Regions from separate parts of the Homo sapiens genome. Here regions 2, 3, 4, 5, 6 and 7 are each linked to region 1. The links are contacts of gene promoters, found by promoter capture Hi-C in blood cells and fetal thymus (Javierre and others, 2016). All regions are on one chromosome and are shown on one strand. Each heading gives the region's core, a stretch centred on a gene start or on the middle of the fragment in contact. The rest is flanking DNA. Distances are from core to core; before and after follow the strand shown. Region 1 holds the start of ITGA6-AS1 (ITGA6 and PDK1 antisense RNA 1). Region 2 has its middle 40 kb from the start of CYBRD1. Region 3 has its middle 70 kb from the start of CYBRD1. Region 4 has its middle 18 kb from the start of DYNC1I2. Region 5 overlaps DYNC1I2 (dynein cytoplasmic 1 intermediate chain 2). Region 6 overlaps SLC25A12 (solute carrier family 25 member 12). Region 7 overlaps SLC25A12 (solute carrier family 25 member 12).

Region 1 (4,031 bases), core at 1,469-3,968:
AAGACAATGGGACTCCTGTGCTGCTTTTTCTAGGCTTCTCTTTGCTGGTGGTTACCTTTACAGGAAATCTCTTACCCAGCCTTCACTCCACCCAACTGCAATAATGCTTTTCTTCCTTCCCCTCTACTTGGCTCTATTATCTTAACTTTTATCAGCATACAGAACAGTTTTGGTTGTGATGTTTTATTTGTGTAAGTTTTGCCCTTTCAACTAGGTTGTAAACTTGAAATCCTGGGTTTTACTTCCTAAGCAGCTTTGTAAAGAAATGGAGACAACATTGCACCAAGATAATTTTTGTCATGGCCACCCACTAGCTGTGAGATCTTGGGGGATGAGTAATTAAGCTCCTCAAGGCCTCTGTTTCTTTATCTGTAAAACTGGAGGACTGGTCTCTCTCAGGGGCTTCCAGTGTGAAAGTCCTGGGGTTCTGGGCCTCTGATCCTGGCACCCCACTTATCCCTTCCAGCACCCTCCACATGACTCCACCTCTGACATCTGCCAAGTACAGTAATTTAACACATTCACCTTATAGTCTAGGCAGTTCACCTCCCAGGTACTTGTTTGTTGGCATTCCTGGGATCGGGGACATCACTGGAATAGGAGTGGAGCAGACCTGTGGGGACCCTTGTGGCCCCGGCCTTGCCTCTGTCCTCTGTCAAGAAGGTTCAGGCACCAAGGACACTGCTCCAGTTCCTAATTTAAAAGTCTGTGTGTCAGTTCTGTACCTTGGTGTGTGCTGTTTTGTTCCTTCAAATGTAGGGTGGGTTTGGAGGTGGGGGCTGACTGTGACTGTCCAGGGATCTGGGAGGAAGGACAGTGCTGGGGCTATGTGTTATCCATGAGCCACCCCTCCTTCTCTGTCTGGGCATCATCTGGCCCCCCTCCCTGCTTTCCAGGTACACTTGCCTCCGGTGGCACCTGCTGCATGATATTGGTTTAAAAAAAATATGTTGAATCCTTTATTGGAATGATTCCTTTATTGGGACCCAACAGGCATGAAGGTAATAGAGACTATTTGGTTTGTATTTTCATTTGTTTTGCTTTTGCTTCTGAGATTTGTGGGTTTCTTGATGGCCAGGAGTGGCTTGTTTTCTGTTGTAAGAATTTGTTGTTTGTACAGGTTCGTGTTCCCAGTCCTTTTCCTCAGCTCCAGCCTTGTTTCCAAAACTCTCAGCTCTTGGTTTATCTCTGTCCAGTCAGGTGTGTGTTCTTTGTCTTTGTTTCTTGTCCTAGTTGTTCCATGAGTCAGCCAGGCCTCAAAGATTGTAAACCTGATGGTGAGTAAAGGTGTTAGCAAAAGAGACCTAGCAACAAGGTCATTGGATCTCTAAAGAGCCTGTCAAGCTGTGAGATGGTGAAATTTTAAGGACTGTGGATTTGGACTGGGGGCCTCCTTATAGGAGATAAAAACACTCGGCTGGGGAGAAGAAGGAATATTACAGTGCCTAGTACATAAGTGGAGCTACACCAGTTGTCCCTGAATCCTTTGTGGGAGACTGATAGGATGAGAGAGGACGAACTCTTGTAATGTGACAAAAGTGCAAGGAAGTAAGAACTGACTTGGAAGAACAAACATCAACTTGTACACCTCAAATATATCTGCTTTTTATTTGTCCATTCTACCCTAATAAAACTGGAGGGAAAAAAAAAAAAGAATTGGAAAGAGGCCAAGGCTGCAAGTGAATAATTCAGTCGAGTTGTATCTTACTTACCATTAGGTTCTCTCAATTAGTATATAAACTGAAAATCTAAGATATAGTCAGAATTACCCTTGAAAACTACCTCAGGAAGGCACAGTGTTAGAAACTGACATATTATTGCTTATTACATTTAGTGTGGCCATTTTTTCCTTCCATTGTCACAAGTATTTGGTTTCTTCTCTTGAGTTTCATATGATATCCCTGGCATCATAGGGGCTTAGAGGTTGTATTCTTTGAAGAGGGTGTCTTTTAAACACCAGATCATACCCAGCAAGAAATGCTGATACTATGAGAGACAGGCCTATTTTCCTCGTTTTGGTATCCCCTCTTTGGCTTCCCCTGTTTAGTTGTGTTTGTGCGTTTTGCATGAACCAGCCATAGGACTCTACATTTGTTCTCACTCACTGCCTAAGCTGTTGAAGAATTAGTGGACTCCTAGACAAAGAATAATCCCACTATCTCCTAGTTCTGACTGATTTAACTGTTAAACGTATATTAAATTCAAATCTCCAAATTGTCTCTGTTTCATCAACAGGTTGCTCGTGGGGGCCCCGCGGGCAGAAGCGCTTCCACTGCAGAGAGCCAACAGAACGGGAGGGCTGTACAGCTGCGACATCACCGCCCGGGGGCCATGCACGCGGATCGAGTTTGATAACGATGGTGCGTTCCTTTCCCTCACTCAGCGTTCACTCCGGCAGCTTGCCTGTACTGTTTCCATGAGGGAGGAGAGTGGGGACAAACATTTATTCTTGTAGAGAGGACTTCTTTTAATTGCATCAGACTTGACTGTTTTTTATTTGCCCTGAAAATATTTACTTACTTTACTTCTGAATCATACTGGGATGCCGCGTGTTTTGCTGCTCCTCCTAACCGTGGTTTCTAAACCGATATGGTGTAGGGATGTTGCCACCTAGTGATGTGTTGAGGTTCTGCAGGAGGTTGTGGAAAAACTCATTTCATAGCAATGAAGAGAATGAATGAGCGTATCTTGTATTCATCAGCCAAAAGTTCTCACATGCTGTTAAAATATTTGGGAGAAAGACAGTTTTAAATATCAGACCCCTTTGGAATGAGAGCTGGCTAACAGAGATAAAGTTTTCCCTCCTGTCTCAGATAGAGACTTGTTTTGTTAAGGGCTCTGGATAGGTAGAAGATACCATGAGGTAGGCATGTTGACATCCAGTGTACCTGGCTTCTTGTAGGTTGAGCAGAGCAATTAGTGTACTGAGAAGCTCTAGCCAAACCTCGTTTGATATGTTCGGTCTAAGTAGATTTGCAGATTCGTGTCTATGTTCTTCTCTTGCTTCTTCATCTTTTAGAAATAACATTTGTTGGCCAGGCGTCGGTGGCTCACACCTGTAATCCTAGCATTTTGGGAGGCCGAGTTGGGTGGATCATTTGAGGTCAGGAGTTCAAGACCAGCCTGGCCAACATGGTGAAACCCCATCTCTACTAAAAATACAAAAATTAGCCAGGCGTGGTGGTGTACGCCTGTAGTCCTAGCTACTTAGGAGGCTGAGGCGTGAGAATTGTTTGAACCTGGGAGGCAGAGGCTGCAGTGAGCCAAAATCGTGCCACTACACTCCAGCCTGGGTGACAGAGCAAGATACCATCTCAAGAAAAGAAATAACATGTGTTCTTTTATTAGAAACTAATATGTGTTAATTTTAAGAAGCTGGTAAAATACACAGACCTATGAAGAATAAAAAAACCCACTGGCAATCTCAGTATCTAGACTTATTTTTTAACATTTTGGCATTTTTCCTTCTGTCTAAAGTTGTTTAATGTTTTTGTAATGATTCAAGATTAAAACCTGTGTCTGTATTGCTACTTATGGAGGAGTGCAAAATTTGGATATAGGTCACACAGTGGGTTTAAATTGATACTGAAATGAGCACCTGGTGGTGTTTGTGGTCCCCGTCTCTCTGACTAACAGTAACTCTCCTGTTTGGCATTGATACATTGTCAGCTACAAGATCCTAAAGTAAATCTGAGTCTTTTTCTTCCATCTCCAGTAAAGAAGAGAACATTTAATGCTGTTAAATAAAAAAATTGGGGAGTATATAGAGAAGTACCCATTTTTTTTGTTAGTTTGGATGGTAGCTGCAGTTTGGAATACTAGATTTTACATTGTTGCCTTAAGAGATGTATTTTGGAGGGCTCCCTTAGTCTTACAGTTTCACTTACCTTCTGCATTCAGGACCCTAGGTATCAAGAGAGGGCAAAGGGTATTGTTGGACAAAATAGGCAACTATATAGAGCTAAGTACTTTATGTTTCAAATGTTTGAAAGATTCCAAAAACCACATCTCTGTTTCCTTGAGATGACAAG
Region 2 (4,031 bases), core at 954-3,453, 900 kb before region 1:
CCTGGGTTTATGTCCCAATCATTGTCCCTTCCCCTGTGCTCTCACGTGATAGATGATTGGCTATTTCTTTACCTCCTGTTTTAGCCTAATTAGCATTTTAGTGAGCTCTCTTTACTACCTGACTGGTCTGGTGTGAGCTAAGTTGCAAGCCCCGTGCTTAAAGGTGGATGCAGTCACCTTCCCAGCTAGGCTTAGGGATTCTTAGTCAGCCTAGGAAATCCAGCTAGTCCTATCTCTTAGTACCACCTCTCAACAGGAAAACCCAAGTGCTGTTGGGGAGGTTGGCCAAAGACCGCTCTAACTGCTTCCTGCTGAATTGGGACGTAGTAGGGGTCGTGCAATTGAGATTTCCTCGGGAGGCGTGCCTTCGATGTCATTAACATCAGAGCATGGGCTAGCAGGCCGGTCCAGGGGTCCACGGTAGATCTTAGTCATGGACTGCTTCTGGGGCTCCATTTGAAGAACGATTTGTAGTTTTACAGCTTCGATTCTGGAAGAGACAAACTTAACAAGGAGGTTAAAGATACAGGGATTGAAATGTATGGCCTGCAGTGCAGGAGATTATTTCTTTGGCACACTTCACAGGCCCTGACTATCTGCTTGATAGTTTTGAAAAGGCCTGGTCCCATAAATAATGATTTGGCCATCTGATGGGTGCTATCAATGGCTAAGTGAAAGGTTTGGTGAAGGGTTTTAAGTAATTTCCATTGGTTAGCTGCAGGCAAAAGTATTTTCCCTTCTTTGGTGGCTAGCCATCCTGAGGGGAGGAAACTATGTCCCCGTGAGGTTCCCCATTCTATTTCTCCTGCTGAGTACAGAGGGGATTACCCCACACTAGGGGTCCTTCTACAAGCATTTCTAATGGAGGGTCCCACCTTGTGGCTCTTTTGGCTTCAATATCCACTTGGCAGTTCCCTTCCGATGACCCCGACAGTGTAAGACTGCCACCTCTTTAGGTTTCTGTACAGCTAATAATAATCTCCTAATGGCTTCCTGATGTTTGATAGGTGTTCCCTCGGAAGTTAGGAATTCCCTTTCTCTCCATATTGCTGTGTGGGCATGGAGGACTAGGTAAGCATACTTAGAGTCTGTATATATATTTACCCTTTTTCCTTTTTACCCTTTTTCCTTCTTCTAATTCTGGTGCCCAAGTGAGGGCTATTAGTTCTGCCAGCTGAGCGCTAGTTCCTGGAGTGAGGGGATTACTTTCAAGTATTCCATTATCACTGACCACTGCATACCCCGCTTTTCGAAGTCCTTTTTCTACAAAGGAACTTCCATCAGTATACAAGTTGAGGCCAGGATCAGTCAAGGGAATCTCTAGAAGGTCCCCTCGAGTGGTGAAGGTTTGAGCAATTACTTGTTGACAGTTATGTTCTATTTTTTTCTTCATTGCCTGGAAGAAATGTGGCTGGATTAAGAGTTGCACAAGTGTGCAGTCGCAGCACTGGTCCCTCAAGTAATAGAGCCTGATGTTTAAGCAAATGGTTGTCTGACAGCCACAAGTCTCCACACAGTGAGATCTCTTCCCTGTATCATTTTAACTGCTTCAGATACTAAGACTGCTACTGCTGCCACTACCAGTAAAAAATGAGGCCAACCCGTTGTCACTGCATCAGTTTCCTTACTCAAGTATGCCATGGGTTGCAAGCTGGTCCCTCGGACCTGTGTAAGGACTCCTAGAGCTATTCCTGTTTTTTTCTGTTGCATATAAGGAAAAGTCTTGCCCTGTTGGCAAGCTTAACACTGGGGCTTGGTTAGGGCCTTTAGGGCCTGGAAAACCACTTCTGCTTCAGGTGTCCATCTTACTAAATGGGTATTGGCTTTCTGAGTTTTCTTAATTAGTGTATATAATGACCTGGCTATTTCGCCGTACCTGGGAATCCATATTCGGCAGAAGCCTGTTATGCCAAGGAACCCTGTTAGTTGCTTTAGTGTTTTGGAATGAGGATAAGCCGGTATAGGCTGGATACATTTCTCACCAAGGGCAAAACTTCTGGTGAGTGTACTCTTTCTGCAGGAAGTAAAAATGGCCTTACTAAATAAATTAAATTTATGTTCAAGTACTATTTCTTTACAGCACCTGGGAACAAGCATTTCAAACAACTCCTTACCATTTATTCCCCGGGTCCACATCTCTTCTTAAAGGAATGTGGACTTTCTTCCATGATTATCGGCTGTATGAAGAACTGTCTTGGAACCAAGAGAATACATCTTCATAGGATGCAGGCTTCAGGGAGCTAGAATAGAGGAGTGGGGAGCACAAACTGAAAAGGGTTCCCCTCACTCACTACAGAGGCACAACCCGTAAGGCCAGCCATTCTAAGGACAGGCCAATTTGGGTGGGTGAGGATGCTCGATACGGGAGCGGTCCAGGAGCACATGTCTGCCGACCTTTGTTCATGTCAGAGGTAGCCCACAGGGCAGTGCTCATTTATATCACCAATCCATAAGAATACATTTTTGTTTTGTCAAAAAGACAATGTCTATAGAATTATCTGAAACCTGTTTTTTCAGATCTGACTAGAGTGAGTTAGCTATGATCACTTTCCTTCTGGTAGCCACTCAAGGGGCGTGATAGGCGAGTGAGGTTTATAGAGTGAAAGGAAGACGGCTCATGCAGGATTTGGCTGGTGAGTGTTCTATTAGGGTGAGAATTTTGGAAGGAGAAGCTTTCTGATTGACTTTCAAATACAGTTGGCAATCTGGTTGGTATAATATCTACTGGTACATAACTAGGAAATTTCTAGGCTGAGTGGAATAGTATGAGTTTTTCTGTTTCAACGGGAAGAATATCTGGTTGTCAGCCTCAGGGTCAGAACTGTACATAAGCAATCCCTTAGTTTGGTGAATGTTATGGCAGAAATTTAGTCTGAAGTCTAGTCCAAATAAATGTTTTCTATATTCTCATATCTATTTATATGAATCTTATCACATTAAGGCTAGACTGAGACATGTCACAAATTTCTCTCTTGTGGAATGAAGGTGAAAAAGAGAAATATAAGCATTGGGTGAATGTTGAAATGGATAAGTTCTGAGATTCCTCTTAAAGTTTAGATTCTGATGAGATTTCCTGAACAGGTGCCTCTCTTGTGGCTCAGGTACCAGAGGGACTCTGTAGAACTCCAGGGGGCCAGGCCCTAGCTCAGCCCTGGCACACACAGGCAGGCCCTAGAGTAGCCACTAGTGATGAAGGAGGAGGGCAGGAAGCATCCTTGCCCTCCCCAACCCACGACCTGGCTCCCTGTCTCTATCAGCGCTCACATTCCCCATTCAAACCTCTAGGTCTTGAGCAGATTGTAGGAGGTTCTGGCCCAGTGAACTCACCTGGAACACTCAAATGAAGGAAGTAAAAGGGTGTGAGGCAAGAGGAGCAGTGACAGCCTTAAGTGTGAGCTAATTCACCCCAAGAGCAAGCAAAAGTGCAAATAAAACTCAAGGGTGTGGAAAAGTGTGGAGTGATGATTAGGATTCAGGCCTCTCCTTGCCTAGCCTTCCTCCATTCTCTCTCTCTCAACCTCTCACTCTCTCTCTCTCTCTCTCTGTCTCTGTCTCATTTAACAGAGCACTGGATTGCGAATGGAGTGCAAGTAGAGACTGAGAATCACCACTGTAGTGATTGTATCTGTGTGGCAAATCATCTTAAAGATTTCTTGTATTTGGAAACAATGTCTAATAAAGAATGGCCAAATACAAAGTTACACTATACAAAAACTATGTCATCAAAAATTATATTGTTCAAGTGAATAATTAGCAATATGAAAATATGTTCATAAAATATTAAGTGAAAGAAATTGAATATAAAAGAGTTTGTAAATGTGAATGTGCATACACTTTCAAATAACTGGAGGCATAATATACCAAATAGTTAATTAGTTAATAATGGTTATCTTTGGCCTGGTGTGGTGGCTCATGCCTGTCATCCCAGCACTTTGGGAGGCCACGGTGGGTGGATCACCTAAGGTCAGAGACCAGCCTGGCCAACATGGTGAAACCCTGTCTCTACTAAAAGTACAAAGGAAAAAAAAAAA
Region 3 (4,031 bases), core at 575-3,074, 870 kb before region 1:
AGACTGCCTTCTCCTAACTCTCTCTCTCTCTGTTCTTCCTGATAACTTTAGAGAAGCACATTGTTGAAGCAAACTGCCCTCTGGAGAGACTGTCATGGCAAGGAATTGAGCATCCTCACCAATGAGGAAAGGAAGCCTGCAGCTCAATAGCCAAGGAGGAACTGGCCTTGCCAGCATTCATGTGAGTGAGCTTGGAAGTGGATTCTTCAACAGAGGATGATAGCAGCACCTGCTGCTCATAGCAGCCTTGTGAGAGCCCCAGAAGACCCAGCCAAGCCATGTCCAGATTCTTCACCCACAGAAACTGTAAGATAATGAATGTATATTGTTTTAATCTGCTGAATTTTGGGGTAATTGCTTATGCTGCAATAGATAATTGATAAGGTTTGGCTGTGTCCCCAACCAAAATCTCATCTCGAATTGTAATCTGAATTGTAATCCTCATGTGTTGGGGGTGGGACCTGGTAGGAGGTGATTAGATTATTGGGATGGCTCACCATGCTGTTCTAATGATAGTGAGTTTTCAAGAGATCTGATGGTTTTATGAGGGGCTTTTCTCCCCTTCTCTCCACACTTCTCTCTCCTGCCACCATGTGAAGAAGGATGTGTTTGCTTTCCCTTCTGCCATGATGATAAGTTTCCTGAGGCCTCACCAGCCATAAGGAGTTGTGAGTCAATTAAATCTTTTTTCGTTTATAAATTACCCAATCTTGGGCAGTTCTTCATAGCAGCATAAGAATGGACTAATACAATAATTAACACACCTGAGTATAAATCCTAGCACAGACCTTCCCAGCAGATGAGCCAAGGCATACTGGTATGCAAAATATGGATTACAGGTGAACCCAAGATATTGATCCTTTAACTACTGGGGATGCCAAGGGCAGGTGGGTCAGGTTGGGCCTGGGATTACTAGAGTTTAAGGGCAGGTTATCCCCAGTAGAGGAAGCATTCTAAAGCATACAATAATTTGGATTTACAATGGAAAGATAGTTTTTAAAGACTGAAAATAGGAGAGAGAATAGAAGAATAAGGTCTAAATAATCTTTAAGTCTTCGGAAAATCTAAGTAACCAATTCTTCTTTGCTGGAAAGAAATGAAATCTATGATATTTAGAAATCCCATTAAAATAAAGTTATAAAATCTCTCACATTTAGCCTTTGGGTAATTCATTTTGTTAAGTGGATGTGCAGAAAGGAGGCAGTTTCCCTTAAATGGAACCACTTAGGGGTCTAATTGGAGGTCCGATCCCTTTTTGCAGAAGATGTTTTTTTATCTGCTGAATACAGTTAACTCTCCTGCATGTCCTCTCCCTGGTTTATTTGCTTACTCTGGGAAATGAAAGGATGGCGTGGTTTGTGAACCAGGAGTTGTTATTCTTTGCCTGCATATCATGTTGGCTTTTTTTTGGTAAGAAAAATCACAAGAATATATGAAGTTTTTTTATGAATAGAACCCTTTATTTTTAGGAGAAAATGGATGGAACAGTTTGGGGCTTTGGGGCCGCCTGTTGCTCTTGTGTGAGCACCTCCCACTGCCTTGACTTTACTCTGCTGCATACTCGGTGCCAGGATTTACATGACCTCGGTGGGGAACAACTGGATTTAGCATAAGTAAGAATAACTGCTTTTCCCCTGGGGAGAGACAAAAAGGATAAGTGCATAAGGCACAGAGACAATATTATCGGGAGTTATATTCCTGTTCGGCTCTTTTATTCACTCTGAATTCTGGATTCTGTTGCAAATAATGAAAGCAAGAAGCTAGCTGGCTTGGAGCCAAGGTCTGGGATTAGCAAAGACTATTTTATTTGGGGCTAAAAAATATGTGTTCATTAGTGATGTTCTATACGTTGCACATATGGCCATCGGATTAAAAATCATTGTTTGTTTTTTTTTTTTTTTTGGTAAATTGATATTGCCAAGAAAGCACAGTTAATAATTTGAACTAGGCAGGGAAAGGTGAGTTTCTGCCACTGTGTCTACCCAGGATGAACGCAGAAGGTGTCTGTGCACACCTGTTCCTGCTTTGCCACACATTCTCAGGTTGCCCCATATTCTCTGGGCTTGGGTTGGACAGCTATCATCCCCATAATAACCTGCATCCTTTTCTCTCCCTTACTTCCAACCGTGAGGTAACTTTGACACGAACACCCTAAAATCTAATGTCAGTTTTTCCTTTTTACTCTCACCTTAAATATCCTGTTTTTCTTTTCTCATAAAACCATTGAACGAGTTGCAAGACCCCATTTTGAACTCAGCCAGACCCTGGTTGGAATCCCAGCTTCCCTGCATGCTACTGTCTCCAGGATCCTAGGGGAAATTATTTAATTTTCCTTCACTTCAATTTCCTCATTGATAAAGTGAAGAATAATCATATACATCTCATTGGGTTTTGTGAAGATTAATGAAACAAGAATAAAGAGTATTATATTGCATTGTACCTAGTAATAAAATTTTATCTTGATCATTAATACAGGGTAAAGTGGTAGTCAGAGGGAAATTTATAATTTAAATACTGATATTAAAAATAAGAAAGCCCTTAAAACCAAAATAAATCTTCCACTTGGAAAGTGTAGAAAAAAACAGTGTTTATATTATAAAAATGATGACTTCCATTTTTGGTTGTTTGAAAGACTAGATGTCCGGAAAAAGTCTTCTGGTATGGAACTAAAATTCTGGATAAAATATATTTTTAAACTTTCTAGAAAATACTTGTCTGAACTCTTGGGGGGAAAAAAGGAAGATCCTTGCCATAGATAATAAGAAGGTAAAAATCCAGGCCAGGCTCGGTGGCTCACGCTTGTAATCCCAGCACTTTGGGAGGCCGAGGTGGGCAGATCACGAGGTCAAGAGATCAAGACTATCCTGGCCAACATGGCGAAACCCCGTCTCTACTAAAAATACAAAAAATTAGCTGGGCGTGGTGCCACACGCCTGTAGTCCCAGCTACTTGGGAGGCTGAGGCAGGAGGATTGCTTGAACCTGGGAGGTGGAGGTTGCAGTAAGCCGAGATTGTGCCACTGCACTCCAGCCTGGGCGACAGAGCGAGACTCCATCTCAAAACAAACAAACAAAAAAGAAAGTAAAAATCCAGAGACTTAACCTCTCTAAAGCTGGTGTTTGCCATGACAGCCTATCTGACTGTCTTCGGTGGCACCTGCGGGGGAGGATAGACAAAAACACGAGGCCTGTGAAAGCCAAGAGGATGGACTAGAAAACATCACGTGAAGCCAGAATCCCAGAAATATTACTCTAGGTATGTTCAAAAGGGTTGAACAGAAGTGTGGGGGGTGCCCGAGAGACAGAGATGTAGAAAAACTTACCAATCATCTCTAGACCGAAATGAAAATTATAAATGGGAAAGAATACTTGGAGAATGCTAACCACAAGTTTGTTATCACAAGTGTTTAAGCCAGAATTTACACCATCTGTATTACCTACCCACCAATAAATCTAAGTCAAATATGTCGTTAAAAGAGCATCCAAATATTTAGCTAATAGGAACAGAACAATAGGATAAACCTAAAGAAAGTGGAAGGATGGGAATCATAAGGGAAAAAAATAATGAACTAGAAAATGAAGAAACAGTAAAGCACATCTTTTGAAAAGACTCATGGAAGTGATGACCCAGACAGAAAGGCTGTGCCCAATCCCCAGTGTTGCAGTTGGGGAGAGCACAGGTTTCATAGAAAAGTGCTGCATTGCCAGGCACGGTGGCTCACGCTTGTGATCCCAGCACTTTGGGAGGCTGAGGCGGGTGGATCACCTGAGGTCAGGAGTACAGGACCAGCCTGGCCAACATGGTAAAATCCCATCTCTACTAAATAATACAAAAATTAGCCAGGCGTGGTGGTGGGTGCCTGTAATCCCAGCTACTTGGGAGGCTGAGGCAGGGAGAATTGCTTGAACCCGGGAGGCGGAGCTTGCAGTGAGCCGAGATCATGCCACTGCAGTCCAGCCTTAGTGACAGAGCGAGATTCTGTCTCAAAAAAAAAAAAAAAAAAAAGAAAGAAAGAAAGAAAGTGCTGCATC
Region 4 (4,031 bases), core at 1,015-3,514, 800 kb before region 1:
TGAAATTGTAATAGGTTTTATTTTTTCTCAAAGTTAAAATTCTTCCATTATTTACTAGCTTCACACTTTCTTGAATTTCTTCCACACTTGGAATACCAATAATTGGGTTTTACAGCCCAATCTTTTGGTCTCTTAATATAGGCAAATCTCTTTTGTGGTTCTATTCATCTTTTGATTAACTTGATCATATTGCATAGAACAGTAAGCTGCCACTATTTAAGTGAATTCAATGAAGGCAATGGTAGGCCTTTTTGATTTGCAAATTTACTTGAAAAGCCATGTCCCTATAGCAGTTAAATGCTCAGTCTTTTGATATTAGCACAGCATGAAAAGCAACAGTTTTTATATTTTGGTGGCATACATTTACTTTTAAAACATGCATACATATATATATGCATTTCCTACCATGTATGCTTTATTGCTTATAGACATGAAATAAATAGTTTAACTACCAAGCCAAATATTTTAAAATGTTTTGTTATTGCTTCTTATCTGTATAAAAGACCGTAGTTGCTTCCTTTTCTGCTATCTCAACCTTAGCAAGCAAGAGTACAATTTAGCACTTTTCCTTGATGATTAACTGTCCAAAGGCCAAGAAAATGTTGATGGTTAGGCAAGGGAGAGAGTATTTCTACTTTATATTTTAGCTTATGTTCACAGCATAAACTACTTCATTCACACGAAACTGAGAAAAAGCTAGAAAAATCTTACCATTTTAGGGACAACTGTTATGACATGCATGAGTCTCCCTAAGTAAATCTAACATAAATAAATAAGATACATTAAAAGATAATATACTAATTCAATCTACTTGATGCATTGTGAACATAAGATTTGGCCGGTCATTTTTATAGGAAAATCTGATATTTAGAAATATAACAGATTGCACACTGGTATTATGTCTCTAATCATCTAAATGAAACAATGAGCTAATTATCTATAATGACTCACTACTATACTTTCAACACCTTTAGGGATCAATTTCACCCAAAAGTGAACTAAGCCAGTACCACATGGTCTGCTCTCAAGCAGTGACCTCTCTGATTCAAATGCAAAATGCTATTGCAGATGAAATTCACTGGTACAAAATGTTCAATAGAAAGATTACATTTCCAGTGGGGCAGAAAGATATTTGCCAGCATCTCATTAAGGCTTCGATACAAAGTCTTGGATTTCAATCAGCATCGAGATAGAATGACAATAATCCAGTAGCAAGAATGTAGCTAGGGCTTTGTTTCTGTAAGCATTATGCATTTTTCCCATCTACAATAAAATCTTGAAAAAATTCCAAGAGAATAGATATGGAAAGAAATAACCTTGTAGTCATTTTAATGTCAGCCACAGAATGCGTTCTGTGAAGCCTCTGCGGCCTGATAACTTTGCCTCTCACTCAGGGAGGAGAAGGTGACATCATTTACATTTAGCCCAACACGTGAAAAAGGCTGAAATTCTCTGCACCATAAATGTGGCATCAATTCTTCCGCCTCTCCAGCCCCACCTCCCATCATTAATATAGTCCAGCCATTTTATCATCAGCATTTTATCTTTTTCCCCTAGAAGTAATTTACTGACTTAATGGAAATGTGAGAGATTTGCTTTAACAGATTTTACGAATTTAAGCAAAAGGTCCTGCTGAACATTTCTCTGTGGAGAGAGGTTATTCTTTGGCCAGGAGACATTTGTAATAGTTCAGTAATCTAAAAAGATTTGCCTTGGACTTGCTAATTTGCTCAATCTCTTAAGTAACAAAAGGGTCTAAACTCTGCCTCTCAATTTAAAGTGAGCCCCATAAAAGCTTCCAGCTTAGCAAGAAATCTAAGATTCCACAATGTGAGCTTTTAACCCCATTTCAATTTGTGCAAGTGTAATATCATTAGGGACTGATTTCTACTACAAGGTAGTTGTGGCTTTTCATGGAATTTAGTTCTTTATCTGAGAGGTGGCATGGTAGTGGAACACACAGAAGAGGACAAAGTACTGCAGAAATAAAGTTTGTTTTTCCTGAAGGATCAGAATCTGGGAACACTGCAAATTCATAAGAAAGCCTCATTCCTATGAAACTTTTGGTTAAATACTGCCAAGTAAGAATTGGCAAAATCTGGATTGGACTTTGATTAGGGGGTGAAAAATTCAACTGTACTCTTCTTCATTTTCATGGTTGAATCTGAAAAGGATACAATTAGGCAGAATTGTGTCACTGTATTCGCAGCTGTGTCCCCAGTAGCTAGAACAGTGCCAGGCACTAGGATACTCAATAAATATTGTCTGAATGAATACACTGCAATAGAACAGAGTCATCCTCATTGTTTAGTCATGGGAAGAAACAGTTGCTTTGCCTCGGGTTGTATCAATAGCCAGCCATTCTTTGACTGGCTTTTTGGGGCTGGTTGCTGCAGCTCCTTCTGCATCCAGACACCTTTTTCTGGAATCAGCTAATCCAACTGTGCAACTTCATGGGAAAATGTGTAATGAGTAATGGGGCCTCTTAACCGGGAAAACAAATAGAAGAAAAATAACCTGTGAATTTATCATCTTGCCCCAAACCTTGGTACGTTAAAAGAAATCTACACAATTGAGAGCCATATTTGCTGGAATTCCTGAAACAGTTTTGATTTTAAGTGTCTTGTCTCCCTGTCCCTTAAGTCATTGGCTGACCATGTGCTCATCACAGTTAGACTGGAAGGTAGGGAGAGGGAAAACTAAGATAGCAGGAAAGAGGTAAGAGGCTCTACCCAAGCTTAATTTGAACTAAATTATCTCCTCTAGATATGTCATTCTGTTAATTATTAAAAACTCCATCAAGTATGGAAAGCCTCCTACAGGTATGGTAAAAAGGTAATACCAGGAGCGGCAGGACTAATTACAGTTGCCTCATAAAGTACGTATGAAGAATCGGTAGCTAAGAAAATACAACACATTTTGGAAACTTGGAATAGTTCAGTTTGACAGAAATATAAGCAAGAATGTTTCCTTTTCAATATTATCTTTATCTCTGGTAATATTCTTCCTAAACACCTGGCCACTTCTAGTACAGTTTTTCCTGATCATTTTGTACAGGCACTGTCCGAGGACCTTACCTGGCCTGTCTCATTGCAGCTAGTCGTGTTTATTAATTGGCTAAGTCATACTGAAGTCTTTCAACTTCTGGAACCAAAGAACAACAACAATAAAATCACTTTGGGTTAGAATAAAAGTTTCTGGAAACTACTACTTGCCAGAAGCAGAAAAAAGAAAGAAAGAAAAGAAACAACACTTGCAGGGATTTTGCCTTTGTAAATAATCCCTGCTTTTTTATTTTCAAAATAAATACGGGTAAATTTTTGTCTTAATTGTAATTTTTGCCAAAATAACACACATATATCATTTACACAGTCAAATAGCAATAGAAAGGTCCTGTCCTGAACCTCCCCACTAATAATATCTGTACTTTTAGCTGTTTCTTCTAGTATTTTGATTTTTTTTTCTGACTTCCTACTATGGTAGATGAGAATTTGATTCTTACCCAGATACAGCCCCCACATCCCTCACCCCCTGGTACATCTTCTTTCTCTTTTCATCCTCTTATGTAGTTTTGGCATAATTTTCATTCAACCAATATTCAATGTTTACATTATTATCATTTTGTTAATATTATTCAGAGCTAAGCTACATAGTATACTATAAATACATTTTCTTTATGGTATAATAATTTCCTCATATTTTTATTTGATTAATTTGCTATGAGTCATCATTAAACTCTCTGAAAGACATATAAATATCCCTCCAGTACATTTGAACATACCAAGTAGTCTAGCAGTTTCATTATAATCATTTTAGCCATGTCTCCACTGCATTCTCAGGCTCATATCTGGCTTGTGTCCAGACCTGCTGTATGCTAAGAACTCCCTTCTGCCCTGGCCTAGACAATTCTTTCCAGGTCCCATGTCTTCTTCCTTGGAGTACTCCCTTATTTTGTTGAGCAATGTCATTAAAATTTCCTTTTTTTACATATTACAAATTTGTAATAATATTAAAAAATGTTCTTTTGGGTT
Region 5 (4,031 bases), core at 1,035-3,534, 740 kb before region 1:
ATTTGCTCTATGTAAAGGCACTAGATTATCCTTTCTTTGGATTTGTTGTCCTTTTAGTTACAGGTTGAGGTATATAAGTGAAGGAGAAGGGAAAAAAAAGCATCCTGATACCATGGAGCTATCCTTAACCCTTTGGAAATATTTATAAAAATGAGATATTTGGGCAGTATCCTTTGGGGGAAAAAATGAGATAATTTGTTTTCTATATCATTACAGTTATTTTCATGTCTGGAGCTCTTACATTAAGTTTCTTTTCCCAAAGTGTATAAGTTTTAGAAAGAAGGAAAGAGAAAAACCTTGAAATTAAGGTTTTATAATGGAAACACTGTGCGCTTAACTGTTCTTGTGCTTACCCATCACGTTAATACAGTGGTTCTCAAACTTTGCCTGGTTGGTTCCCATTTAAGAATTATGTAATGAATTCCAGAACTCACCATGAAACAAAATTGGTGAAATCACAGTTGGAGTGTAACAGACAGCAAATTAAACTTCTGTAGGCAGTAAAATCCATGCCTACAGAAATCCGTGACTTACCAAATTGAAGGTAAAAATTGGTCGTAGACTTAACTCTTACCTTTCTTTTGTATTCTTTTTTTAAATAAAAATGGCCAAGCCTATTCCTTTAAAAAAGCAGTTTTTATTCTGCCTTGTTTTTTCTTTTTCACTCTTCTGGCCACCTTCTTGCTTTCCAGTTTACTCTGTAAGTTGGTAGTACTGTTTCTGAACTGTGGTGCTTTGCTGTCTTAAAGCGCCTACTGTGAATGAAATTGACTAGCACCACGTGACTTCAGTCGATTTTCTTCTCAGCAGGTGAAAAGCTTCTCTTGGCAAGAATGTGGTGCCCACAGATACACTCCTGGAAAAGTTACTTTCTTTACCTTTTTAAAAGTTTTAACTCTTTTGAAAAAATGGCATTATTTTTTCTTATTCACTTCTTCTGTATGGATTTTTTTTTTTTTTTGGCTATTTTTTGAAAGATTATTAAAGGAAAAAGAAATCCTGAAGGTTACCTAATCTAATCAGCTTGTTTACTCTGAGGAAACTGAGGTTCAAGGAGATTACTTGGTGAGTCTAAGTCCACCGTCTGAGAGAATATCGGGCATACATCCAGAAACTGGCACTTGATTTCTAGTGAAGTACCATTTTTCTTATTCCATTCCACTTTCTTATCTGTGAAGGAGTTTATAATTACTGTTGGTATTGGCTTAGTAGCCAGATATGTTTTCTTCAATACCTGTTGATTAGCTTTATTGTGTGTAGAATATTAATATATGTGATTATCTTGTAATCACTTATTGCATGATCTTAACATTTGGAATTCACTCCCAGAAGACCAAATTTGTATGCCTTCTGGTTAATACATCTACCTTATCTAAAATGGATTTTTCTGTAATCCTAGCACTTTGGGAGGCCGAGGTGGGGCAGATCACCAGAGGTCAGAAGTTTGAGACCAGCTTGGCCAACATGGTGAAACCCCATCTGTACTGAAAATACAAAAATTAGCCAGGTGTGTTGTCACATACTTGTAATCCCAACTACTTGGGAGGCTGAGGCAGAATTGCTTGAACCCAGGAGGCAGAGGTTGCATTGAGCCACGATTGTGCCATTGCACTCAAGCCAGGGCGACAGAGTGAGACTATGTCTCAAATAAATTAATTAAATAAAATGGATTTTTAAAAGATTTTGGAATGAATAACACATTTAATAAATTAGTTTTAACCCTCAGAGGACCTATAAGAATATAAACAAAATTGAAAATTGAAGCATTTGTTCTTAATCTTGATTGAAAGACTAATCAGCATATCTGAAACCCTGGCCTCAGAAAAATATAATATTTGATGAAATCACAGATAACAAGACCTATGTAAGGGTGCTAATACTGCGAAAATAAAACCCAAATTTTATATAAAAAGGACTGTGACTGGTCAAGGTGGTGTGCACCTGTAGTCCCAGGTACTCAGGAGGCTGAGACAGGAGGATCACTAGAGCCCAGGAGTTTGAGGCCAGCCTAGGCACATAGCAAGACCCCATCTCTTAAAAAAAAAAAAAAAAAAAAAAAAAAGAACTACAGAGAGACAAATTTTGTGTTAAAGGAAGTGGTATAATTAAACTATTAGTCTTTTCTTATTTTCCCCCCAAGTTAGCATTACATCTGTATTGAAATCATTAATGATTAAAAAGTCAGCTGTGTATTTTTCCCTTGTTGAAGAGCCAAAGAAACCCAAGTGACCTTGCATCTTATTCTAGATGGTGTAAAAAAAGAAAGGGAATGGATTCCATTGATAGATTCATGAAACTTTGTCCCAATGAAGATTCTCTTTAATATGCATCTGATTTTAAAGAGTAAGGTATAAGAAGATGAAGTGATGGACAAATGGATTGAAATAGAGTGATTCAAAATGAAGCTGACCCAGAAAAGAAGGGATTTTTTGAAAATATTAAAGGAAAATCATTCCTATGTAATCTGTATTTTTAAACTAATGATTAAAGCATTTTCCTCTAATATTTTCATAGCTGTTTGTGAAGTTATTCATAAGTTGAATTTTTATAAGTCAAATCATATTTTTATATGCAGCAAATGTCCTGACTTTTAGAACTCAGTGTCAGCTTCCTTTATACCAGGAATAACCAGACTACCTTGTAAGTTAGGGATTTTTCATAGGATATTAAGTTATCTTAAAATGGGATGCACCAGTACAATAAAACTACATAGTAAATTGATAGACAACAAACATATTTCCTAAACAACAGTGCACTAATGATGGGATTTGTTTTTCACTTCATATTGAGATTTAATCATTAAAAGTGATAGATTCATAAGTAGCAATGTTTGTTCAGTAAGGATTTTCTAAGATACTGTATATTACCTTTTAAATGTCTTGTAATATTTTAAAATAATTCAGAGTATGCTTTGTGGCATACTCTTAGCTTATCTTAAATGTATCTTAAATGTAAAATGTATCTTAAATGTACTGTGAGGTACAGATGAGAAAACTTGCTCTGAAGTCTCCTTCCTTCAGTTTAACAAAAGCCACCCATTTCACAGATGATTTAACTTTGATTAACTTACTCCATTGTAAGAGATTATTCCAACAACTGGAATTTCATTCTTTCGTGTTACTTGTAGGTGCAGCTTAATTTACAAAACAGCTTTTCTTTCTGTCTCACCAAAATACATCACAATTTTGATGTTAACTCAAAGTAAAAATTCAGTGGTTCATTAAACCTAGTTTTAGCATTCATTGACAAGAGATTTGTCATTTTAAAAGTAACTGCTACTTTTATGCACTCTTTACTGCTCAGTTTATAACCTTAGATTCCTTGTCAGAGAAAGCGTGGAGTTAACCACTTTAGCATATTGTAATGAATATTCATCAATAAATTGATGTGACATGGCAGCCCCATTTTTCAGTCTTCCTGCTCTGTTACAGTCTTTTCCAGTTTTAAATATAGCTTATCATGTAATAAGGACTAGCTTAGAAAATCTTCAGAACTGTAATTTTATATTTTTGGCCACGTTAATAGTCCTTTGGTAGCTATCATATTAGCTTATAACAAGAAAAGCATATTTGTTTCAGAAGAACATTTTTTAATCTGATGTTATTGATGTTAGGCATTTTTGCCAAATATTTGGTAAATTTGATAATTATTTAAGATCAACCTTATAGCAAAAAGATTGCATTTTACAGTTTTTAAGAACAGCATTATCATTTGTTTTTATGTTCCTTGAAATTTATTTAATCATTTTTATGAAGCTTAAGTACCAATGATAGTTTTAAAGTCTGGTTTTAATCCATGTAGAAAGGGAGGGTATGTACTTTAATTCTAAAATAAAACCCTGAGAGCATGTATTTAAATAGTTGATACTCATGATTCAGCTACAACTGAAATAATTTATATGGACAAATAGGCATGGCAAATGCTGTATAGTACACAGATATAGATCACTGTCTGACATATTTCATCTACATTTTAAATTTTAAAAGGAAAAGAGTGTCTATAAACAAGATCTTTTCTGTTAAATATGTAAA
Region 6 (4,031 bases), core at 1,049-3,548, 670 kb before region 1:
AATTGTTGTATGCTTTGAAGATTAGTTACCTAGCACACATACCAAATCCCAACAACGCACAGGACATAACCACAAAACTCAATTGATGTGCATTTATAAACACATATAATCTAGCAAGTAAGAGTGCAAATAATCAATGACACTATAGCAAGGCACACATCTGTAAGTTTGTTTCATGCCTATGTTTGAAGGAGGAAAACTTCTGACAATTAATGATTTGTATATGTTTTAAAAATTAACATACAAGCCAAGTGCAATGACACATGCCTGTAGTCCCAGCTGCTCACAAGACTGAGGCAGGAGGATTACTTGAGCCCAGGAGTTCAAGGCCAGCCTGGGCAATGGAGCAAGACCCCTATCTCTTAAAATTTTTTTTTTTTTAGTAATTAGTATACATTTTTAAAACCTCATGATAGGCCTAGGAACATAAGGCAAATACTTTCCAGAAACGCTGAATAATTTTAGCAAAGATAAAGACTGCAAAAACCGCAGTTACTTTTGTACCAACGTAATAATTTGTCTAAAACTCTGGATGTTTATAATGCTTAAAGGGAAACACACATGGCAAATATGCACTGTTCTTTTTCGGATTCTGAGGTTGACCACTCTCTCTATCCTACATATTAAACTGGGGATAGGGAAGGGGGAGTAAAATCTGAGATTAGTTCAATTATACTGGTAATAAATCAAGCAACTCAGAATGAGGGACTATGATGTTATCAAACTCTTGAACTGGGTGTTTCCTCTCTGCGAAACAAATACAGAGAAATACCATATTTCTTCTAAGACTCTATTGATTATAAATGATATCATTAATAACAGCTTTCCAAAGGGGAAAAGCACTGCTTGCAGTAAATATAATCTTTAATATAGAGAATTTCATAAATACAGTAACTTTTCAATAAAAAATAGTACCTGTATTTCTACAAATATGCTAATGTTTGCTATTTTTAATAGCAGCAAAATTGAACAGGAAGAAATTCAAATTCCCAATAAAACAGCTAAGTAGATACAATTCTATGCTATTAATTGGGCAATATGATTTGATAATAAAATCACGCCAAATGACAAAAACAGAACATAAAATATTAGGCACACATTTGATCATAAATATGTCAAAATTTACCTAAGTTTCTCAAAACCCAAGTGGCTTAAAGATTAAAACATTGATTGCCTCCTGGAAAGAGAAACTGAATAGCTGGGAGAAATAATTTTCATAGCATACTCTATTGTACCTTTTAAATTTCAAAACATATGAATGTATTAACTACGCAACAACAACAAGAAACAGACCTGGTCTTAGAAACAATGGCTTCTTTATAGACTAAGTCTTCTCTCGCATATTCTTCTTCATGGTAAATTTGGTAATTTGGCAAATATATTTTTTAAACTGGTTGGCGTTAGTTACTGTGGACCCAAGGTTTTTTAAAAAGCTTATTATATATGAACATCAAAAAACCTAATCAAATATAGCTAGTGACCTGAAATAATCGACACTAAGATATATAAAATTTTAAATTAAATCACAATGATACACAGCTATATAAATGTAAATGGACATTGCTAAATTTGGCATCTTGCTGCTTCTGTTACTAATGCTTACATTAGATAACATACCACTCTATATCATACCTTTGCTGAATTTTTTTCACTCATGAAATCACCAAAATTAGCTTCTAATTCTCTAATTGCTTAAATTTCCCGCCTATTTTTTAAAAGAGATACAAACATTAATACTAAAACAGACTTAGATGCTTTCTATTTTTCAGTATTCTGTTGTCATTTCTTTGTTCTAGAACTGAGTTTAAAAGATACATAAAAGAGAACAAATCTCATTTTGAATGAGGGTTACCCATATATAACAGAAATGGAAAGAATAAAAAACTTCCATTTAATCTTATATCATATGAATTTTTTAATGAGAAAATCAACTAAAGCTGACAGCAAAAGTTAGCGGGGAAAAGGATGTAATTTTGAGATGTCACCATGCCTCCACAGTGCCAAAGGCCGAGGGGCTGTATACAGGATTAGGCCTATTCAACCTTCTGCCCTCTCAATCCTACCCCTGGGGCAAGGTTCACAAAGAGGTTGGAGGCTGGGCCCTGCTTGTGCCAAGTCCTTTGTTTATTTCCTTCTTTGATCTGTTGTCTCCTATAGATTGAAATGATTTCCCTCCAACCACAAAATATCCAATCTAAGCAACTCATTATAAAGTCTTCCCTTATCGAGACTGATGAAAATCTAACTTCAATTTATTTAAGGTCACATCAACTCCAGATGAACACAGTATGTGCGTATAAAATAACCAGATAAACAGTAAAAGTCACAGAACTAGCTGTCACTAGGACTGACTCAAGAGGAACAGGAACAGACAGTGACTCAGCCTTGCACACCACCAACCGTTCATATTTTTGTAAAGCAATAGGAAATGCTATGGTTCTTTCTAAAATAGGATAGTGATAGTTTAAAAGAAATAAATGCAATGTGCTCATTGCTGAGTGATGATATATGCGAGGGTGTTACAAATTAACACTACATATACTCCTAACTAGGGTAAGGGAAGTGCTATGATCCGAATATTGGTGTTTCCCCACAATGCATATGTTGGAACTAATATCCAACATTATAGTATTAAGAAGTAGGGCCTTTTGGGAGGTGATTAAGTCATGATGGTTCTGCCCTAGTGAATGGGATTAGTGCCCTTATAAATGAGGTTGAAGGGAGCTGCCTTGTCTCTCCTACCATGCAAGCACACAGCAGCAAGGTACATGCAAGCACACAGCAGCAAGGTACATGCAAGCACACAGCAGCAAGGTGCCATCTTGGAAGCAGAGAGCAAGCCCTCCCTCACCAGACACTGAATCTGCTGGTACCTTGATCTTGAACTTCCAGCCTCCAGAATTGTGAGCAATAAATTTCTGTTGTTTATAAATTACTCCATCGAAGGTATTTTTTAATAGCAGCCAAAATGAACTAAGACAGCAAGAATGAAAATCCCTGTGTACCTATCATAAGCCACTTTTGACATAAATATATAAGGATTTTCAACTTGTATGCATATCTATATGTGTTCACATAAGTATGTAGGCATAAAGTTGGACTACACTAATTCCTGGGGATGAGAGGTGGAAGAGCTGTTTCCAAACTACTCTTTAGAGATATACAAGCTTGGCTTGCTGAGGAAGACATAGAATTCTTCATCATAAGGAGCTGGCTAGTTACAGATCTTGGCCCCCAGGATTAGTAAATGCTCCGCCTAACATGTGGGCTTTTTGCTTTACCGATATGAAGGGAGGGTGTGTGTATGTGGTGTGTGTAGACACATGCTTAAGCTGAGAAAAAGCATGGGAGAGTTGAAAGATTCTAGGTTTGGAAGACTACTGACCTAGATCGTCATAGATTTTGCATTCGGCATAACCATTCCATTCCCACAACCATGCTCTCTGCCTCACCGAGGTCTTGTGCACTACTAACTCATTTGAGAGCACTATGCAGACTGAAAGCAAGACACAAAGGGAAAGAACGTGTTCTCCAGAAAGTGTGTTCGCATAGGGTTGTGAAAATTCACCTGCAACATTAGCACTTTGCTGAGTAATAAGTTTTGAGTTTCATGACTTCCATCCACTCAGGAGTATATACTCTCTGAAAGAGGTAATGCAGTCAGCTAGGTAAGTTTATCACTAATCTCTGATTCGAGTTTAACAATTAAAAAAGAACAGGTACTTACCAAAGAGACCATTAGAAAGTACCTAAAGGTTAGTCCATTTAGATTTTTTAATATTCTGCTTTGTTAATTTGAAAAGATATTTAAATTTATTCTCCCTTAAGTTTCTGGATCTATCCAAAAAACTACATAATTACTTTTTCTTTAAAAACTACTATAAACATCATTAATAAAAGTAATAAACAAGTCACAAACTGGCAAAAAAATATCCACAACACATCTGTTTGACAAAGGGCTGTATCCATGATGTATAAACAACTTTTACAATTAGTAAAAAATATGAAACCTAATAAAATGTACGCAAAAG
Region 7 (4,031 bases), core at 519-3,018, 640 kb before region 1:
ATGGGAATAGTTAAGGTTAGCATTACTGAAATTCTGTGAACTAAAGAATGTTAAAAACTGAGTCACTAGGATTGTAGTCTATATGGCTGCCTTACAATGCCTCATAAACCTGAAATATGTTAACTGAGGAATGTTTTTTCAAGGCTGAAAATTGAAGAAAGTTTATTCCATTACTTTGGTTGCTATAAGAACTTAAGCATATTTTCATATTATTCTACTTGAGTCCAGCCTGTATTCCTTATAAAATTTTAAATGTTACAAAGGAAAAAGGAGGATAAATTTAGAATTCTGAAAATAAAATCCATTGATACATACCATTCTACAGAATGCAGGAGCTTGAAGGCTTCTCAGAAATACATGAAGATACTCACTTTATTAAAGGGAAAACTGAGTCCCAAATAAACTTGTATCAAATCTCAAGGACAGTAAAGATCAGATTTCACAATGGCCATTAGTGGACATTAATCTGAATCCTTAACCTTCACAAATCTGTTTCTATAAAATTCTAATAATTATTTATTATTTCTGTTGAGTTCTATTTTCTCAGATTTTGTTCCTATAATAATGTACAGGAAAATATACACTTAAGACCTTAATTTTTATTTCTCTGTACCTAATCCTCAGTAGAAAGACTATCTTCTATGTGAGAGGAAACATCAAACATTTTAGCTGAGTGCAGTGGCTCACACACACTGTAATCCCAGCACTTTGGGAGGCCAAGATCAGTGGATTAATGTAAGCTTAGGAGTTTGAGACCAGCCTGGGAAACATGGCTTAACCCTGTCTCTACTGAAAACAAATTAGCTGAGCATGGTGGTGTATGCCTACAGTCCCAGCTATTCAGGAGGCTGAGGTGGAAGGATCACCTGAGCCGGGGAGGTCAGGACTGCAGTGAACAGTGATTGTGCCTGGCTGACAGAGTGAGACCCTGTCTCCACAAAAAAAAAAAAAAATTGTCCTGAGACTCTGAGGTTCTTCCTTTGGGGACAATGTAAGAATACCTAAGACTTCTACCAGCTCTCCAGAAATTCTAGATCCCTGTACTATCTCACTGGTTAAGGAAAGGCAGAGAAAGCACTCCCCATCACTCTGGATACCAATCAGAGACCCAGGGAAGAAGAAAATGGTGGTTTTTATCACTGCCCATTTCCTAAATATCTGAAAAGACCCTTGAGGCCACCCATCCCAGCATAAAAGCATCAGCGCTGCCACTGAAGACAGGCAAATCATCTTGAATCTGTCTTAAAAAGAATTCACAGCAGTAGCAAAATTACATCACTTTCCTAAGGATGAAGAAATGTGAAGGATGCAGACTCAGGGTGCCAAAGATTGCAAAACAAGCTTCAGATATGGCCTCTAGGAAAATTGCTAGGGGCAAGAGAGGTGGGTGAATAGAAAAGTAAGCAGCAGAAAAACTGAGGAGGAGAAATGAGTTGAGACTTTTAAATTCAATGTTTTTAATAAGCTAAATGAAATATTCCCCAATTACAAATATTAAGGAAACCTCCAGGGAGAGCTATATCAATAGACACATGCAACACTGCAAAATATCTTCTTTTGAAATGCAATTTTTCAAAATTCAAGAGCAAATTTTCACAGATGTATAGGCTACAAAAAATAAAATTAAATTCAGTAAGAGCTCTTTAAATATTTCAATGTCTCTTAATTTTATTAAAAATTTTTCACATTCTTTCCTTTTATTAAACATAATTTTATAAAATTTTATTTTTTTAAAATCACTGAATTGAAATAAATCCATCTATTTTTAAAGGATCTGAGACCTCCTAATGGAAATAAACTTTTTTCTTTTTTTTTTTAAGACAGAGTCTCACTCTGTTGCCCAAGCTGGAGTGTAGTAGCACAGTCACGCTCACTGCAACCTCAACTTCCTGGGCTCAGGTGATTCTCCCTCCTCAGCCTCCCAAGTAGCTAGGACTACAGGCACACGCCATCACGCCTGGCTAATTTTTTGCATTTTTTTTTTGTAGAGATGGGGTTTTGCCATGTTGCCCAGGCTGGTCTGGAACTTCTGGGCTCAAGCAATCTGCCTGCCTCAGGCTCCCAAATTGCTGGCATTACAGGCATAAGCCACTGTACCCAGCCTGGAAATAAACTTTGATGGCAGCAGATAAAAGAGTTTTTCTGATACAAAAGAAGCTAAATTGCAATGAGTTACAACATATTTTAATCTGTAGGAAGCTTTATTACACATCAAGCAAACAGTTAAAGTATTAATACAAAATGCAGATATAATGGTTTCTTTTCCATTTTCAATTTACTTCAACCTGACTACAAAATGTTCTTGTTCCTTATGTAAAGTAGAACTGTAAATTCTAATTAGTTTCACAGGCAGAATCATCATTCCATGGAGCTCAAGTAGAAGAAAGGTTTCCTAACCAAGTCTTCCCAAAGCGAACTACACTTAAACATATCTTGATGTTTCATTAACACATTTGGTGAAGGTGAACAATAACAGCAAGCCAACCCTGGCTACTCACCAATGTGGCAGCAATGAAGAAAGAGCAGACATAGCCTCTTTCTATAGCATGCACATTTAGTAACTGTCTCTCTCTCTCTCTCTCTCTGTATCCTGTCTTCTTTATCCATGCCCTCCCCACGTCGCCTTGCCTAGTATGGCATCACACTCTCCTAGAGAATTATGAGGAACACAGGTTCCATGTCTATTAGAGCAGGAAAGTACCAGGAGGACAATGACTGGCCCTCCTAACCCTTACCCACACACAAAAGCAATGTGATCATCTGCTACCACTGAAACTTCCTAAGTGCTATAGAAGTGGAAGTTTCAACTTAAAACGAGATTTATTAAAAACTGTTCCATTCCACTCTTCAAGGTAATTTCATGGATTTTCTTTTTCTTACCAAGATAGTATTTGTAAAATCAGAAATGGGATTGTATTAATTTTATAGGACTCAGAAGCTACTGTTTTAATCATTCTTAACATTTATAAAAACCAAAAGTAATATTTATCAAAAATGTAATTAACAGTCAGGGTTTTCTTTCTGGTTTCACTAATTACTTTTTTTTTCCTGGCTGTAATCTGTAAGGCACAATCCCAGTGAATGATTTATTTAATTTGAGGGAAGTTTTTTAATTTTAGAAACCCTATAAATATCAGTTTAATGATACAAAGTAAACCTAACACTAATCTTTAAATGTGACGAGGCAAATGAAAAGAATGCTAATTCTAAGGGGAACGGGGTCAAACCCATGTATGTTTGAACTCTTATTTTCCTTATCTGAACAAAACAAAAAACAAAACACAAATATAAATCTAGTTATCTCATAAAAATATTCTATAGGCTGGGTGTGGTGGCTCATGCCTGTAATCCCAGCACTTTGGGAGGCCGAGGCAGGTGGATCACCTGAGGTCACGAGTTCAAGACCAGCCTGCCCAACATGGCAAAACCTTGTCTCTACTAAAAATACAAAAATTAGCCAGTTGTGGTGGTGCACGCCTGTAATCCCAATTACTCGGGGAGGCTGAGGCAGGAGAATCTCTTGAACCCAGAAGGCAGAGGTTGCAGTAAGCCGAGATCACGCCATTGCACTCCAGCCTGGGCAACACAGCCAGACTCCATCTCAAAAAATATATATATATTCTATAAAAGTGGGGGTAACAGTAGTTCTATAAAGGTAATCTTTAAGCTAAGTAAAGTCTTTCTCTGGAAAGTAATTTTTAATTTTTACAGCATTCAGAAGCTGTCAGCTCCTATTTAGTCTACTAGTTCAGCATTTTTTTAAGGTGATCATATTTATGAGATTACTCATACCTGTCTCTGAAGTTCTGCCAGGTTGTAAGGTAAGGCCCCCTCAGCCAATGGGGCTATTCTCTCAATATCTGCCAAAGTCAAGCGCCTTCAGGAAAAATATAGGAAAGAATTGTTAGACACTGACAAACTCCTCACGCCAAAATCATCTTTTCTCAAAAAAAAAAACAAAAAACAGTGAACTATAGTTTAAAATCATTACTTCCCTATTTACACAGATCATTTTAGTGAAATAAAAACCT

What was found. Contacts are between HindIII fragments. The CHiCAGO score rates a contact against its expected background, and 5 or more counts as called.
Region 2: a contact is called between a fragment that was not itself captured here and the fragment with the promoter of ITGA6-AS1 in region 1, in 1 of 17 cell types (total B cells). The highest score is 6.0, in total B cells.
Region 3: a fragment that was not itself captured here is called in contact with the fragment with the promoter of ITGA6-AS1 in region 1 in 4 of 17 cell types (total B cells, naive B cells, neutrophils and 1 more); the score reaches 12.2 in total B cells.
Region 4: a contact is called between a fragment that was not itself captured here and the fragment with the promoter of ITGA6-AS1 in region 1, in 2 of 17 cell types (total B cells and erythroblasts). The highest score is 9.1, in total B cells.
Region 5: a fragment that was not itself captured here is called in contact with the fragment with the promoter of ITGA6-AS1 in region 1 in 11 of 17 cell types (total CD4 T cells, fetal thymus, naive B cells and 8 more); the score reaches 11.2 in total CD4 T cells.
Region 6: a fragment that was not itself captured here is called in contact with the fragment with the promoter of ITGA6-AS1 in region 1 in 2 of 17 cell types (activated CD4 T cells and naive CD4 T cells); the score reaches 7.0 in activated CD4 T cells.
Region 7: a contact is called between a fragment that was not itself captured here and the fragment with the promoter of ITGA6-AS1 in region 1, in 1 of 17 cell types (activated CD4 T cells). The highest score is 5.0, in activated CD4 T cells.

The regions. Positions count from the first base shown.
Region 1 is chr2:172,463,304-172,467,334 of GRCh38, forward strand. It overlaps ITGA6-AS1 (ITGA6 and PDK1 antisense RNA 1), which reads right to left and starts at 2,719. Exons shown (of 2, transcript NR_157573.1): 1 at 2,521-2,719; 2 at 959-1,271. ITGA6 (integrin subunit alpha 6) reads left to right here. Exons shown (of 26, transcript NM_000210.4): 2 at 2,236-2,360. It overlaps PDK1-AS1 (PDK1 and ITGA6 antisense RNA 1), which reads right to left. Exons shown (of 4, transcript NR_199657.1): 4 at 963-1,271. RefSeq lists an enhancer at 2,960-3,129. The HindIII fragment of the contact is 13,641 bases long and covers 1-4,031 here.
Region 2 is chr2:171,560,122-171,564,152 of GRCh38, forward strand. No RefSeq gene overlaps it. Among named protein-coding and RNA genes, the nearest start is that of CYBRD1, 40 kb to the left of the region's middle. The HindIII fragment of the contact is 933 bases long and covers 1,738-2,670 here.
Region 3 is chr2:171,590,591-171,594,621 of GRCh38, forward strand. No RefSeq gene overlaps it. Among named protein-coding and RNA genes, the nearest start is that of CYBRD1, 70 kb to the left of the region's middle. The HindIII fragment of the contact is 7,737 bases long and covers 1-4,031 here.
Region 4 is chr2:171,667,024-171,671,054 of GRCh38, forward strand. No RefSeq gene overlaps it. Among named protein-coding and RNA genes, the nearest start is that of DYNC1I2, 18 kb to the right of the region's middle. The HindIII fragment of the contact is 942 bases long and covers 1,794-2,735 here.
Region 5 is chr2:171,719,086-171,723,116 of GRCh38, forward strand. The region is part of intron 7 of DYNC1I2 (dynein cytoplasmic 1 intermediate chain 2); the gene reads left to right. Among named protein-coding and RNA genes, the nearest start is that of DYNC1I2, 34 kb to the left of the region's middle. The HindIII fragment of the contact is 2,937 bases long and covers 817-3,753 here.
Region 6 is chr2:171,796,277-171,800,307 of GRCh38, forward strand. The region is part of intron 13 of SLC25A12 (solute carrier family 25 member 12); the gene reads right to left. Among named protein-coding and RNA genes, the nearest start is that of SLC25A12, 96 kb to the right of the region's middle. RefSeq lists an enhancer at 1,883-2,413. The HindIII fragment of the contact is 1,734 bases long and covers 1,432-3,165 here.
Region 7 is chr2:171,823,006-171,827,036 of GRCh38, forward strand. SLC25A12 (solute carrier family 25 member 12) reads right to left here. Exons shown (of 18, transcript NM_003705.5): 9 at 3,793-3,877. Among named protein-coding and RNA genes, the nearest start is that of SLC25A12, 69 kb to the right of the region's middle. The HindIII fragment of the contact is 858 bases long and covers 1,340-2,197 here.